Regions from separate parts of the Homo sapiens genome. Here all the other regions are linked to region 1. Evidence: promoter capture Hi-C in 16 types of primary human blood cells and fetal thymus (Javierre and others, 2016). All regions are on one chromosome and are shown on one strand. The core of a region is centred on a gene start or on the middle of the fragment in contact, and the rest is flanking DNA. Distances in the headings are between cores, read along the strand shown. Region 1 holds the start of FRMPD3-AS1 (FRMPD3 antisense RNA 1). Region 2 has its middle 21 kb from the start of TEX13B. Region 3 overlaps MID2 (midline 2). Region 4 overlaps MID2 (midline 2). Region 5 holds the start of MID2 (midline 2).

Region 1 (2,721 bases), core at 148-2,647:
TCCTTTACCCTGCCTTATTTTTCCTCAAAGTCCTTCTTTGCTACCTAAAAGATATTTATCGTCTGTCTATTCCTGCTGGAATGGATGCTCCATGAGGCCAGGGAGTTTTGTCTGTCTTATTCACTGCTCTATCCCTCATCACCTAGAACAGTGTGTGGCATGTAGTAGGCCCTTGCTAAATTTGTCAAAAGAATGAATAAACGCCCCCCCAAAGACAATGAGGATGCCCCTCAGCACGACTCCTGTATTCCTAATTGCTGGGCCTTACAGAGCTCAGCAGGGAGCTAGAATCCAAGGGGCACCCAGGAAAGGCTTAGTTTCCAGTGTTTGCTAATCATGCTTCTGATAAAATTGTGGGAGAGTTTTCAAGAACTAAAAAGCCAGCCAGGCATGGTGGCCTGTAAGCCCAGTACTTTGGGAGGCTGAGGCAGGTGGATCACCTAAGGTCAGGAGTTCAAGACCAGCCTGGCCAACATGGTGAGACCCCATCTCTACTAAAAATACAAAATTAGCTGGGTGTGGTGGCACATGACTGTAATCCCAGCTACTCAGGAGGCAAGGCTGGAGAATCGCTTGAACCCAGGGAGCGGAGGTTGCAGTGAGCCGAGATTGCACCATTGCACTCCAGCCTAGGCGACAAGAGTGAAACTCCGTCTAAAAATAAATAAATAAATACAAGCCTGGCTGATTTTTTGGGCATTTCTTACAGAATTGGATAAACAAAGTGGTGCAGAGCCCAAAACTAGAAAGCCAGAAGACTTGGGTTAAATCTCTCACATCTCTATTCCCCAATAGTGTAGTAACTGTGGATAAATCCTTTTGGAGTGCTAGGTCTCCTTTCTCCCACATCTAAAATAGTATTTATTATGCAACTCCTTCCTAGGGGCAGGACATGTCTGTGAGGTGAACAAGATCATTTCTGTAAATTATTTGGGATGCTTATATTCAGATATAATAATAATAATAAAAAGACACCCTTTAGGTCTATCTCACTGTAAGAAAACCAAATATATAAAAACTCAATGTATGTTATTACTAAAGAACTTTTGCAAACTCCCCTAGGCCTAGAGTATTAATAATGGGGTTCAATCTACCCAAATTCAATTCATGCCCAGCTGTTTCAGAACACACCAATTACATAGGGAAGCATTTAGCACATTGCCTTGCAACTAATAGGTAATTAATATTTGTTTATTGACTCCTTGATCAGTAATGCAAAGTGTACCTGTACTGGGACATCTTAACTCTGACGTGACAAAGGTTAGGCTTTCCCTAGATATGGAGAACTCACCATCTCTCTGTTCTTTTTCCAGTCCCCCAAATCTGCTTTCATCAGTGCTGCGAAGAAGGCCAAGTTGAGGTCCAATCCTGTGAAGGTTCGATTTTCTGAGCAGGTGGCAGTTGGAGAAACAGATGCAGTAAGTGTAGCTTTGGCTCCCTCTCCTCAGCCCCTGGCCATAATCTGCCTGGCTGTCAAGCTCTCGCTCTGGGGCTTCTTATAGTGGACAGCTTTCCGAATGGGTTAGAGTGGGAGCGTCCAGGTGCTGGAGGGGGAAAAGTAGTGAGTGAAGAGGGATACGTGACATCCAGAGAGGCCCCAGGCATTGTGGGGAGAAGGAATATATATTGATTCACTCAAGATCCTTCTGATGCTTAGAGAAATTTCCATCCCTAACACAGTAGCTTACACTCAAAGCAAGTGCTCCATAAACATCTTTTGCTACTTGATAGAAACAGGAAGGAAATAATGGCTTCCTGAAGACTCAGGGAATGAGTGGCTGGTGAAATTGAGCTCTCTTCACATTTAAGTGATCTTGCAACTCCACATCTTGACCAGAAAAGGCCATGCAGTGGTGAGTAAAGTTGCCTAAAGGAAATGATACAGACTCTCATTAAGTCACCAAGTTTTTATTAGGCACCTGCTATGTTCTTAGCACCAGAGGGGAGGCAAAATAAATACCTGTTCCCTGCTACCAGATACCTCTCAGCAATGTTGAGGGGGACAAGAGGTTCAGATTGAGACAATACAAAATCTACTACGGGGTGGTATTGTTTCGAAAGACAGGTAATATTTGACAGCCCATGCCATGCAGCTGCCAATTTGGGGAGTCTTGGCCAGCCACAGTGTTTCTCACTGCTTTGGGAGGTTTACATGCAGTGAACTGTCGGCTCCAGATGTGCAAATGAGAAGAGGCAGGTGAAGAGCAGAAAAGAAGTGTGTTAAGCAGTCATGCATTCTGGCCGAGTCCTTCAGGAATCTGCAGAAGTTAGTGATAACCTGGTGGGGACAGAGGGGATAGCTAGAGCTAACAGGCACTTGTGTGCTTTTGATAGCTGTGATGGGCAGAGCTGTCTGGAGGCCCTTGGCATTTACGTACTGAGGAACAGCCACAGTTGTTGGGAGAAGATAGCAGGCCCAGAGCAGGGAAATCAGCAGGGTGCCAGGCGCTTCTATATTATTTAAGGCAGAATTAGTGAGAAGAAGGTATAGAGGACACAGGTGTCTTCCATCTCCATTTCCCTGACTCTCATTCCCAAACTCAGTCTATGCCCTCCTCCATCTCTGCATGAGGAAGGCTGGCAAACCCAGGGGACTACAGGACCCCACTGGGCAAGCTGTCTGAATAATTGATGGTTGGGATCTGTGTCAATCCTAGAAGAAAAGTTTTAAGAGAAGTGATCATTGATGAGCAGAGGGGAAAAGGAGTAATATGGAGTCCC
Region 2 (2,721 bases), core at 145-2,644, 460 kb after region 1:
CTCTTACCTATAAGCGCCATCTACTGGCTTACAAGTCAAACCGCATAGCCCAATAAAAACCTGCTTACAGAAGTGCATAGGGCTGTAGGAGCAAAGCCAAAAGACGCTCCCCACCAGTCACACACCCTAGAAAGGCGGAGAAAGGGAAAAGGAAAGAAAAAATATAATAATATCATAGGAAAATAGACAAAAAATCCTACCTGTAAAAAATAATTAAAAAATTAGAAAGTGCTAGTGTCTCTAGAAGAGAAGAAGCCATTGCAAGAATTCTGACACCATGAAAAACCTGAATGTAGTGAAACTACCAAAGAATCACACTAGCTCTCCAGCAATGGTGGCTAATCAAAATGGAAACTCAGAAACAACAAAGAATTCAAAGCATGGATTGCAAGAAATCTCAATGGAATCCAAGACAAGACTGAAAATCAACACAAAGAAATTTCTAAAGCAATCCAGGAAATGAAAGATATAAACATCTTAAAAAGAAATCAATCAAAGCTTCTGGAATAGAAAAACTCACTTAAGGAATTTCAAAATGCAACTGAAAGCTTTATCAATAAACTAGACCAAGCAGAAGAAATAATTTCAGAGCTTGAAGACCTGTTTTTTGAACTAACCCAGTCAGACAAAAATAAAGAAAAAAGAATTTAAAAAATAAAGTCTATGAAAAATGTGGGACTATGTAAAGTGGCCAAAACTATGAATTGTTGGCTTTTCTGAGAGAGATGGAGAAAAAAGTAAACAACCTGGAAAATATATTTGAGAGAATAATTCAAGAAAAATTCTTAAATCTTGCTAGAGAAGTAGACATCCAGATACAAGGAATTCAGAGAACACCTGTGAGATACTATACAAAGTGATCACCACCAAAGCATATAGTCACCAGATTTTTCAAGGTCAACACTAAAGAAAAAAATCTTAAAGGCAGCTAGAGTAAAAGGTCAGCTCATATACAAAGGGAACCCCATCAGGCTAATGGCAGACTTCTCAACAGAAACCTTGCAAGCCACGAGAGATTGGGGGCCTAGTTTAGCCTTCTTAAAGAAAAGAAATTCCAACCAAGAATTTCCTATCCTGCCATGCTAAGCTTCATAAGCAAAGGAGAAATAAAATATGTTCCAGACAAGTAAGTGCTAAGGCAATTTGCTACCACTAGACCAGCCATACAAGGGATCCTTAAGTGAGTTCTAAACATGTAAATGAAATATGATACCTGCCAAAAAACACACTTAAGTACATAGCTCACAGACCCTATAAAGCAACCATACAATTGAAAGTACAAAGAAACCAGCTAACAACTTCACACTTTTCTCAAAACCTCACATATTAATGTTGACCTTGAATATAAATGATCTAAATGCCCCCACTTAAAAGGCACAGAGTGGCAAGTTGGATTAAAAAAAGATCCGTCCATCTTCTGTCTTCAAGAGACTCATCTCACACTTAATGATGTTCATAGGCTCAAGGTAAAGGGTTGGAGAAAGGTCTATCACATAAAAGGGAAACAAGCAAGAGCAGGAGTCACTATTCTTACATCAGATAAAAGAGACTTTAAACCGACAACAGTAAAAAAAGACAAAGAAGGGCATTACATAATGTCAAAGGGTTCAATTCAACAAGAAGACTTAATTATCCTAAATATATGCACACACCAACATTGCAACACCCAGATTCATCAAACAAGTACTTCTAGATCTATGAAAAAGCTTAAATAGTCACACAATAATAGCGGGGGACTTCAATACCCCACTGACAGCATTAGACAGATCATCAAGCAGAAAACTAACAAAGAAATTCTGGACTTGAGAATTGAAACCAAAATGACACTTGACCAGTTGGATCTAATAGACATCTACAGAATACCCCATCCACTAACTGCACAAAATATACATTCTTCTCAACTGCATACTAAACATACTCTAAGAAAGACCACATGCTTGGCCGTAAAGCAAGTTTCAATAAATTAAAAAAAAATTAAACTCATACCAGCCATACACTTGGAACACAGTGGAATACAAATAGAAATCAATACCAAGAAGATCTCTCAAAACCACACAATCATATGGAAATTAAACGGTTGGCTCCTGAATGGCTTTCGGGTAAACAATTAAATTAAGGCAGAAATTAAAAAAAATTTGAAATAAATAAAAACAGAAACACAACATGACAACATCTCTGGGAGACAGCAAAAGCAGTGTTAAGGGGAAAGTTCATAGCACTAAATGCCTACCTCAAAAAGTTAGAAAAATCTCAAATTAATGATGTGACATCACACTTAGAGGAACTAGAAAAACAAGAACAAACTAACTGAAAATCTAGCAGAATAAAATAAATCAGGGAAAAATTGAGAAAAATTGAGACCAAAATTTCATAAAAAGCATTAAATAACAAACCAAAAGTGTATTTGAAAGGATAAACAGGATTGAAAGAATGCTAGCTACATTGACAAAGAAAAAAGAGGGAAGATCCAAATAAGCACAATCATAAATGACAAAGGTGACATTATAACTGATCCAAGAAATACAAAAGATCCTCAGAGGTTATTATGAACACCTCTATGCACACAAACTAGAAAATCTAGATGAAATGGGTAAATTCCTGAAAACACACAACCTTCCAAGACTAAATCAGGAAGAAACGGAAACTCTGAACAGACCAATATAGAGTTCTGAAATTGAATCAGGAATAAAAAGCCTACCAATCAAAAATGCCCCAGACCAA
Region 3 (2,721 bases), core at 87-2,586, 350 kb after region 1:
GTGACGTACAGATGGGGTTTTGGTGTGGATGTCCTTTCTGTTTATTAGTTTTCCTTCTTACAGTCAGGACCCTTAGCTGCAGGCCTGTTGGAGTTTGTGGGAGGTCCACTCCAGACCCTGTTTGCCTGGGTATCAGCAGCAGAGGCTGCAGAACAGTGGATATTGGTGAACAGCAGATGTTGCTGCCTGATCTTTCCTCTGGAAGTTTTGTCTCAGAGGAGTACCCGGCCTTGTGAGGTATCAGTCTGCCCCTACTGGGGGGTGCCTCCCAGTTAGGCTACTCGGGGGTTAGGGATCCACTTGAAGAGGCAGTCTGTCTGTTCTCAGATCTCCAGCTGTGTGCTGGGAGAACCACTCCTCTCTTCAAAGCTGTCAGACAGGGACATTTAAGTCTGCAGAGTTTTCTGCTGCCTTTTGTTTGGCTATGCCCTGCCCCCAGAGATGGAGTCTACAGAGGCAGGCAGGCCTCCTTGAGCTGCGGTGGGCTCCACCCAGTTCAAGCTTCCCAGCTGCTTTGTTTACCTACTCAAGCCTCGGCAATGGTGGGTGCCCCTCCCCCAGCCTTGCTGCCACCTTGCAGTTTGATCTCAGAGTGCTGTGCTAGCAATTAGCGAGGCTCTGTGGGATTAGGTCCCTCTGAGCCAGGCGCAGGATATAATCTGGTGTGCCGTTTGCTAAGACCATTGGAAAAGCACAGTGTTAGGGTGGGAGTGACCCAGTTTTCCAGGTGCTGTCTCTCACCCGTTTCTTTGACTAGGAAAGGGAATTCCCTGACCCCTTGAGCTTCCTGGGTGAGGCGATGCCTCACCCTGCTTCGGCTCACGCTCGGTGCGCTGCACCCACTGTCCTGCACCCTCTTTCTGAGACTCCCCAGTGAGATGAACCCAGTACCTCAGTTGGAAATGCAGAAATCACCCGTCTTCTGCGTCACACACGCTGGGAGCTGTAGACTGGAGCTGTTCCTATTCGGCCATCTTGGCTCCATCCTCCTGTTTGTTTTATACCTTTTTTTTTTTTTTTTTTTGAGAAAGAGTCTCACCTTGTCACCCAGGCTGGAATGCAGTGGCGCAATCTCAGCTCATTGCAACCTCCGCCTCTCAGGTTCAAGTGATTCTCCTGCCTCAGACTCCCGAGTAGCTGAGATTACAGGCATGCGCCACCATGCCTGGCTATTTTTTGTATTTTTAATAAAGATAGGGTTTCACCATGTTGGTCAGGCTGAGCCTAAAACAGACCTCAAGTGATCTGCCCGCCTTAGCCTCCCAAAGTGCTGGGATTACAGGTGTGAACCACTGCGCCCAGCCCATCCTAATCAGGGCCTCTGACCCCCTTGGGGTTTTCCCCGTAGAAACCCCTTTGTTTATTTCTTGACTCACAAGGTAGTTGAGACCTCTGGAAATATGTTCTCAAGACCTCTTTGTTGCCCAGTCACAGAGTTCAGCGTTGGTTATTATTCTGAGGCTTCCCTTCCCTCTGATGCTTACAAACAGAATTCCTCTGGTCCTTGTCTTTCAGGCTCTTTCCTGGTACTTCCTATTTCTCTACTCCCTCAGCTTAGAAGCAACATAGGCTCTTCTTCAGCTATTTTCACTCTTCTACTTGGGCCCTTGCTTCTTCTGTTGGGCTGGAATCAGACTGTTTTCTGTCTGCCTGGAATCAGATTTTTTCCCTTTTGTCATCCAGAGTTCCCTGTCTCAGAAAGAATGACCTCTTTCTCATAACAATGCCCTTTTCGACCTTAGCTATGAGAGTTCAAATTTCCCTGGCCCTCCCAGTAGAAATTCCTTGCTCTGTATATATACAGGGAGTATCACGATGGTGAATCCATCCCTCAGAAACAAATGTCTTGGGAGGAGTGCTTATGTCAGACTTGAGTACAGAGAGTGGCTAAATGCTCCCCACAATCTGATCTGAGACTTAAGAAGGCGGAAACATTCACTGGCTTGCTTTGTTCTCCTCCCTTTCCATAATTCCTTGGTTGTGAAGGCAGTGAAAAGGATGGCCTTGGAAAAAGCCCTAGACTAGAAATCAGGAAACCTGGGTTCTGCTGCTGGCTCTGTCACCCACTAGTCACATGAACTTGGGTGGAACAGCCTGTGCAAACCTCTATTAGACTGCTTGCTCTTCCATGAAGGAATTTCTTGGTTACAGGCTGTTTCCTTGGTTGGACTAGAAGCTTCCTGAAGGTAGCAGCCATGGCCATGCCACAATCATTTTGGAAACTGCAGTTTCTAACTGGTCTCTCTGGCCCATCCTGTTCCCCTCCTATCCATTTTCCACATTGCTGTGGAAATGAACTTGTAAAATGCAAAACCTGTCATGTCACTCCCTACCACAAACCCTTTAATGGTTCCCCCACTGCCTTTAAAACCCATTATGATCTGGCCCCTACCTACCTCTCTAGCATGGTCTCCCAGACCTTTTTGCTGTCTTCGTCTTCTCTGCTGTGAATCTCCCCTTCCTCTAGCTAACTCTCATTCATTCCTTAAAAATATCACATCCTTAGGAAGCCTTCCTTGACCATCTAAGCTCCCCACTTGACAACTGTTGGTTAAATCCCCATCTTATAAGCACCCAAAGATTATCCTTTTTACGTGATAAACCTCTTTTGTAGCACTCCTCAAACAGGTAACTGCTCAGTATCTGCTTCCCTGCTCATTATAAGATTCACGAGATGATGGCAGAGGCCTTATCTATCTCGTGTATTGCTAAGTGCTTACT
Region 4 (2,721 bases), core at 133-2,632, 320 kb after region 1:
GGAGGGAAAGAAGGAGAAAGAGGAAGAGGAGGTGTAATAGCAGGAACAGTTGCTAGTAGCAGTAGTACTAGTAGTAGTAATTTTGGGCACTACACATTTTGCCAGAGATTCCTAGCCCTGACCTCAGGACTTCCAAAGCTTTTTATCACTATCTCTGAGAGTGGGGAGAACAATCATTCCCAAATACTCATAACCAATTTCAAATTTTACATATATCAACTAAAACTTTTCTTGGGAAGAGGGAGTGGTAATGAAATTGCAGCAGCAAAAATATTGGGTACCTTGGCCATGTGACTCCACCTAGCCCACCAGTAACTCTGCAGATGTGATAGACTAAAAAGGGTTATTGTGCTCAATAAGCTGCTAGTTTGCAGTTACTAATTTAAACAAATTTTATTTAGTAAGGAAACATTTACTGCCCTTCTGCAAGAATATCCAAAAGATTCTTCGTGTTGATACTTAAGTAAATTTGCCCATTATCCTGCCCAAATTCTTCTTGATTACTGCCTTTAAGCAAAGCCAAAAGAAAAGTTTTAGGGAGGGTCACATGCTTTCATCTCTAGTAATTTTAAAAAGAGAGAGTTCTATAATTTTGTATTTGCGATTTAAAATGTTTATTAGCAAAAATGTTCTGTGAATATTTTTGTTAGAGATGGAAGAGCAAGGGGAGCAGACTTAAGAGCTCCTGAGAAAGATTTGAACTGCTAGTGTCTTGTGAAAATGAAATACCTAGTTTGAAACCACTGTGGAATTATAGATGGAGAAAATTGTTTCCATGAAAAATGGAAAATAAGTTCAGTGATCCAGTCAATCTATTCATTTATACTACTGTAGTGACTAATTCAGAGTATTACATTCAATCTTATTAAGAATATAACGATTGACATTTAATATAGATGAAAAACCTAAGTTAACTGTGCAATCCAGTGTGTGGTCATAGCCTATTTTTATACTAGAAAAGAAAGTGCTTTATAATTTTTCAGAGACCTAATGCATTCAATCCTTTTTAAAAAATACTTTGTGACAATTCTTCATTTATGTCAGTAAAGTAACATTTTTGAAGACATTAAATGTTGCAGTTGAAATACTTGGAGGGTATTAACACATGACAGGGTTTAAGGATAAAATTAGTTAGGATTAATATTGTTTTCCTCGCCCTCCTCCCTCACATCTATAGGGCAGGTAAGCTTTCAGGTGTGGTCATGTCTTCATAGCCGAAACAGTTCACATAGGAATGCACTTTCATCCCACTTTTGCACTTTTCCTTTGGCACAGTGAAGCTTATCTTACAGTCCCGTTTCCCATCCCTCCTCTAGTTCTCATTTCTGTGTTCAAATTCCAGGTCACTCACTAAATGACCAGAAGACTTGCTTAATTTTGGCTCCTCTTGTTTGCTCCACTATTTTCACAATCCACCCAAATTCCCCATTTCCAGTGTGCTCTTGGAAAGTTAATGGAATCTTAATAATTCAGCTAAGGCTCTATCAAGCTTATCCTATACCTTGAAATGTTTCTAGTTCCACTTTTACCTCTAATCTCTCCTGCCATCAACCCAACTAAAACTAAACAAATGTTTTAAAAACCCAGACTTGAAACCAAAACAACTATCACCACAGCAGATAGGCACACAGCCATTGAGATGTCCTTACTGTCTCTGCCTGTCTAGAGGAGTCCAGCTCTGTGGTACGGTAAGCAAGGATTGGGAGGAAGAGAATCTTACTTGAATAATTTGTTCTGGGCACTGTGCTAGAGACATCATTTCTAATCTCACTTAGTGTTTATGACAATCCTGTGATACAGCTGGTTAATATTCCCATTTTTCAAGTGAGGAACTTGAAGGCCAGAGATATTAGATGCCTTACTCAAGGTCACACATAAGTAAGCTGGGATGCAGTTCTACATTTCTCTCACTCCAAAGTCTATGTTCTTTCCATTGCATTGTGCAGCCTAGTGGAGAAGTTGTTGGTTTACTTGCCACCGATTCATTTGTGCTCAGATAGGTAGGAGGCAGCTCCAGAAAACCCTTTGTTTTTCTCCACTAAATAGCTCTAGCTCTAGAAAAACATATGGTCTGTTTGGGGGCCTGGCGTTCCTGAATCTGTGGTAAGCCTCTTATGTACTCCTGCCATTGGCCTACCTTTAATAGCCCAGAGCAGCTCTCCATATTCTGACAGCCCTTCATGGGGTACAGAGGAGAGGGAGTTGCCTAGAGTTGGCAGAAGGAAGCAATAATACCCACAATTAGGCATTTACTTGCTCAGATTATTTTTGTGCCATGAGGGGTGGAAATAGTGTGGGCAGCTCCAGGTATCAACACTGTCCTCAGCCATAGAGTTTACGCTGGGACCCATATTTTCTTGCTGAGACTGCCGGGATGGGTCCTCATTCTAGGGCTGTACATGACCATGTTTCAGGGTAAAAGTAGTCTCCATGAGACACAGGGTTTCTTAACAGTTACTAAGAGTTTGACAGTAAAGATGTACTCTCAAAAGTATAATTAATGTTTGCACATTTAAAACAGGATATAAATAACAAATATAATACCACAATGACTGCAAATATATAGATTTCCTCAAAAAAGAGTGAATGCATTGCTATTATTAATGGTGTCTTTTGATGGAATGATTACTTAGAAGTACACATACAGCCAGGAAATCAGCTATTTACTACCTCAAGACAGAAAGAGAATCCAATGCCTCTGTCTATTCTCACTACCTCTCC
Region 5 (2,721 bases), core at 136-2,635, 280 kb after region 1:
TGATGTGGATCATCTTTGCATATGCCTGTTGGCCACTTGTATATCTTCGTTGGAGAAATGTCTATTCAAGTCTTTTGTCCACTTTTAAGAGTTTTTTTTTTAATTGAGCTATAGAAGTTCTTTATACATTCTGGATATTAGCACATTATCCGATATATGGTTTGCAAATATTTTCTATCATTTTGTAGGTTGCTTTTTCACTCTGTTGATTGTGTCCTTTCCTGTGCAGATGTTTGAAAGTTTTATGGTCCCATTTACCTATTTTTGCTTTTGTTGCCTGTGCTTTAAGTGTGACTCACTAACTTTTACTTCTCTTAGGGGCCAGACTTTCATCAGGAGAGCCTGGTTGTGACTTTTGTCTTGGTTTCCACCTCAGTGCTCTCTAGCACATTGTTTAACAGGAGTGTTGACTGATTACTATTGGTTCCCTGAAGGGATATACCAAGAGATACCTCAATTTTTCTGGACTTGTTCCTATGCACAATGATGGGAGGCGTGTGTGTGTGTGTGCTGGGGTGAGTCTTCCCATTTTCTCATTTCTTTCCCCTTCTTCTCCCTTTTTGCCCCAAGTTAGAAACAGAGTCTCTTATGGGGCTTCCTGCTCTTTCCCTCTCCCATCCACCTTTTGAGTCGGGTGGTGGTCTCTGAGCCAATGACAGGTCAGCAAACAGGCTGATTCCAGACCAATGGGAGGATGCTGGATTCCAAATGGACCAATTAGCTTATTAGGGACCTGGAATAGCTGGATAGCTAGCATCTGCCTCATTGTCCATGTGGTAACGACCCTCTTGTTTTACTGGTCAACAATTTGAAGGTACAAGAAAAATCCTACTTTTTTTTTTCTTTTGATGGTTTTAATCCACCTCCACAACTTCTGCCCGAGGCCAATAAAACACAGCCATTCTTTTTTTGTAAAAAGAAAGAGAGGTTCGGTTTCCTTCAATTGTCTGCCCTTTTCTATCTCCTCCACTATTTTTGTTTTACTCTGTAGTTAACTTTGCATAGAGCAGCTTCATAGGGAGGATCTCTGCGGTGGACCCGGCTCTCTCTTCTTATTACCCGTTGCAAAGGCCTCTTTCTTGTTCTAACCTGGGGGTTTGTGGGGTTGGGGGACAGGGGGATTGGGGAGTGGGAGAAGAGTTTAGCCATAGCCTTCCTTCTGCATTTCACACACATTTAGCTATCTCTGTCGCTCTGTCACACACACACACACGCACATACACACCATACACACACACACGCACACCCGTCCGGGTCCCTCTCGGTGTGTCTTCCTTCAAGATGACAGGGCGCTGGAGAAAAGGCTGCTGGAATCAGCTGGTAGGTACAGTAGTAACCCGAGCCCCACCCACCGGCTGCCTTTGCTTGCTCAGGTTTCTCCGGTCACTCCTGCCAGGGGAGAAGACATGTAAACGTGCCTCCAGAGGAAGGGCTGGGGGAGCTGGGAGTGGCGGGGGCGGCGGAAGGTGAGCCTGGGAAGGTGGCCGAGCACCCCTTCTTCTTGGGCCCTTCCCAGTGCTCCCTTGGGGTGTCAGCCCCAGCCCCGTTTGCCCCCACTCCGCCTCCCTTTTGGAAGGGATTGCCTTTTTTTTCCTCTGCGGCGGCGGAAATGACAGTGTGGTGCTGCCGTGGTGTCATGGTGCTGCCCCTGGACTGAGGGGCGAAAACTCTTAAGTTTAGCTCGGGAGGCCCAGCTGCGGTAGCATCGCGGCCGCCGTGCTGTCCCCTGCGGGGCGCGCGGGCTGGCGGATCCCGGCTGCTGCGCGGCGTCGGCGACGGTAGCGGCAGCGGCGGCGAAGGCGGGCGGCGGCCTACAGTGGTAGCGGCGGCGGCGGCGACCGGGGCCCGGGAGCTCGCGCCGGAGCCCGAGCCAACCCGCTGCGGAGGCAGACGAGAGCCCAGCGCCCTCGAGCGAGCGGAGGAGATGGCTGGCACCTGGGAACGCTATGGGTAAAACGCGCCCCCTCGCCGCGGCCCTGGAGGTCGAGCGTCGTAGCCCTCGCAGGGCTAGTCTCCGGCTCCGGCCGCTTTTCAGGTGCCGCCGGGGCCCGGCGTTGGCCGAGGGCTCTCCGGCTCGGCGAGGCAGGGTGATGGGGCCCGCGAGGCTCGAAACGGCGACGGGGGCCCCAGCTCAGCTCCGGCTCTCAGTCATGCTGTTGGGGCCCGGGTTCCTGCCACTGCCCTCCTGGGACGGAGTTTGCACTCCGGGGTGCGGGGCGGGGGCGGCCGAGGCCTCTGCGCAGCCTGGCCGGGCCCGGCGCGGGCAGTCGAGCGAATCCCCCGGCGCCTGGGCGCGAGTCTGGGAAAGGGCACGGCCGCCTTCCCACGCTCCCGCAGCCGGCAGCCTCCTCGGCCCAGGCGTCGCCCCTTGGCCGGCCGTCTGCCGGGCGGTGCTGTCGCAGCAGCCGGCGTGGCTGCGGACGCCCTGCCGGCGGGGAGGCCCGGTGAAACTTAATCCCTTTTCTGCCAGGGAGCGATCCTCGAGTCTCCGTCTGGATGGTTCCTTATTTCTGGCCTAGCTGTGAAATCAGCTCTGTGGGGGAGAGGGAAAACTTACATATGTCCACAGGACAGACTGCGACGCAACCAGGGAGAGTGGGGATTTTCCATTCCTGCCTTGTAAGAATTAAGTAAATAACGGCGGAGTAGATTTACAGAAACATTACTGGTGATGATAAGGTTTAGGTTACTTAGCACTTCGTGTGTTGCACATTATTTTTC

Evidence for each region. The method cuts DNA at HindIII sites, captures the fragments that hold promoters and counts their contacts. A CHiCAGO score of 5 or more calls a contact.
Region 2: a contact is called between a fragment that was not itself captured here and the fragment with the promoter of FRMPD3-AS1 in region 1, in 1 of 17 cell types (M2 macrophages). The highest score is 6.0, in M2 macrophages.
Region 3: a contact is called between a fragment that was not itself captured here and the fragment with the promoter of FRMPD3-AS1 in region 1, in 2 of 17 cell types (M0 macrophages and non-activated CD4 T cells). The highest score is 5.5, in M0 macrophages.
Region 4: a fragment that was not itself captured here is called in contact with the fragment with the promoter of FRMPD3-AS1 in region 1 in 1 of 17 cell types (M1 macrophages); the score reaches 5.2 in M1 macrophages.
Region 5: the fragment with the promoter of MID2 here is called in contact with the fragment with the promoter of FRMPD3-AS1 in region 1 in 6 of 17 cell types (M0 macrophages, naive CD8 T cells, monocytes and 3 more); the score reaches 9.5 in M0 macrophages.

What each region holds. Positions count from the first base shown.
Region 1 is chrX:107,544,424-107,547,144 of GRCh38, forward strand. It overlaps FRMPD3-AS1 (FRMPD3 antisense RNA 1), which reads right to left and starts at 1,398. Exons shown (of 2, transcript NR_046750.1): 1 at 1,292-1,398. FRMPD3 (FERM and PDZ domain containing 3) reads left to right here. Exons shown (of 15, transcript NM_001388459.1): 5 at 1,314-1,418. The HindIII fragment of the contact is 5,600 bases long and covers 1-2,721 here.
Region 2 is chrX:108,001,619-108,004,339 of GRCh38, forward strand. No RefSeq gene overlaps it. Among named protein-coding and RNA genes, the nearest start is that of TEX13B, 21 kb to the left of the region's middle. The HindIII fragment of the contact is 619 bases long and covers 1,086-1,704 here.
Region 3 is chrX:107,890,275-107,892,995 of GRCh38, forward strand. The region is part of intron 3 of MID2 (midline 2); the gene reads left to right. Among named protein-coding and RNA genes, the nearest start is that of MID2, 66 kb to the left of the region's middle. The HindIII fragment of the contact is 1,675 bases long and covers 500-2,174 here.
Region 4 is chrX:107,862,166-107,864,886 of GRCh38, forward strand. All of the region lies in intron 3 of MID2 (midline 2), which reads left to right. Among named protein-coding and RNA genes, the nearest start is that of MID2, 38 kb to the left of the region's middle. The HindIII fragment of the contact is 209 bases long and covers 1,279-1,487 here.
Region 5 is chrX:107,824,481-107,827,201 of GRCh38, forward strand. MID2 (midline 2) reads left to right here and starts at 1,386. Exons shown (of 10, transcript NM_012216.4): 1 at 1,386-1,950. The coding sequence starts at 1,947. RefSeq lists silencers at 1,804-1,993, 2,154-2,203. The HindIII fragment of the contact is 8,930 bases long and covers 1-2,721 here.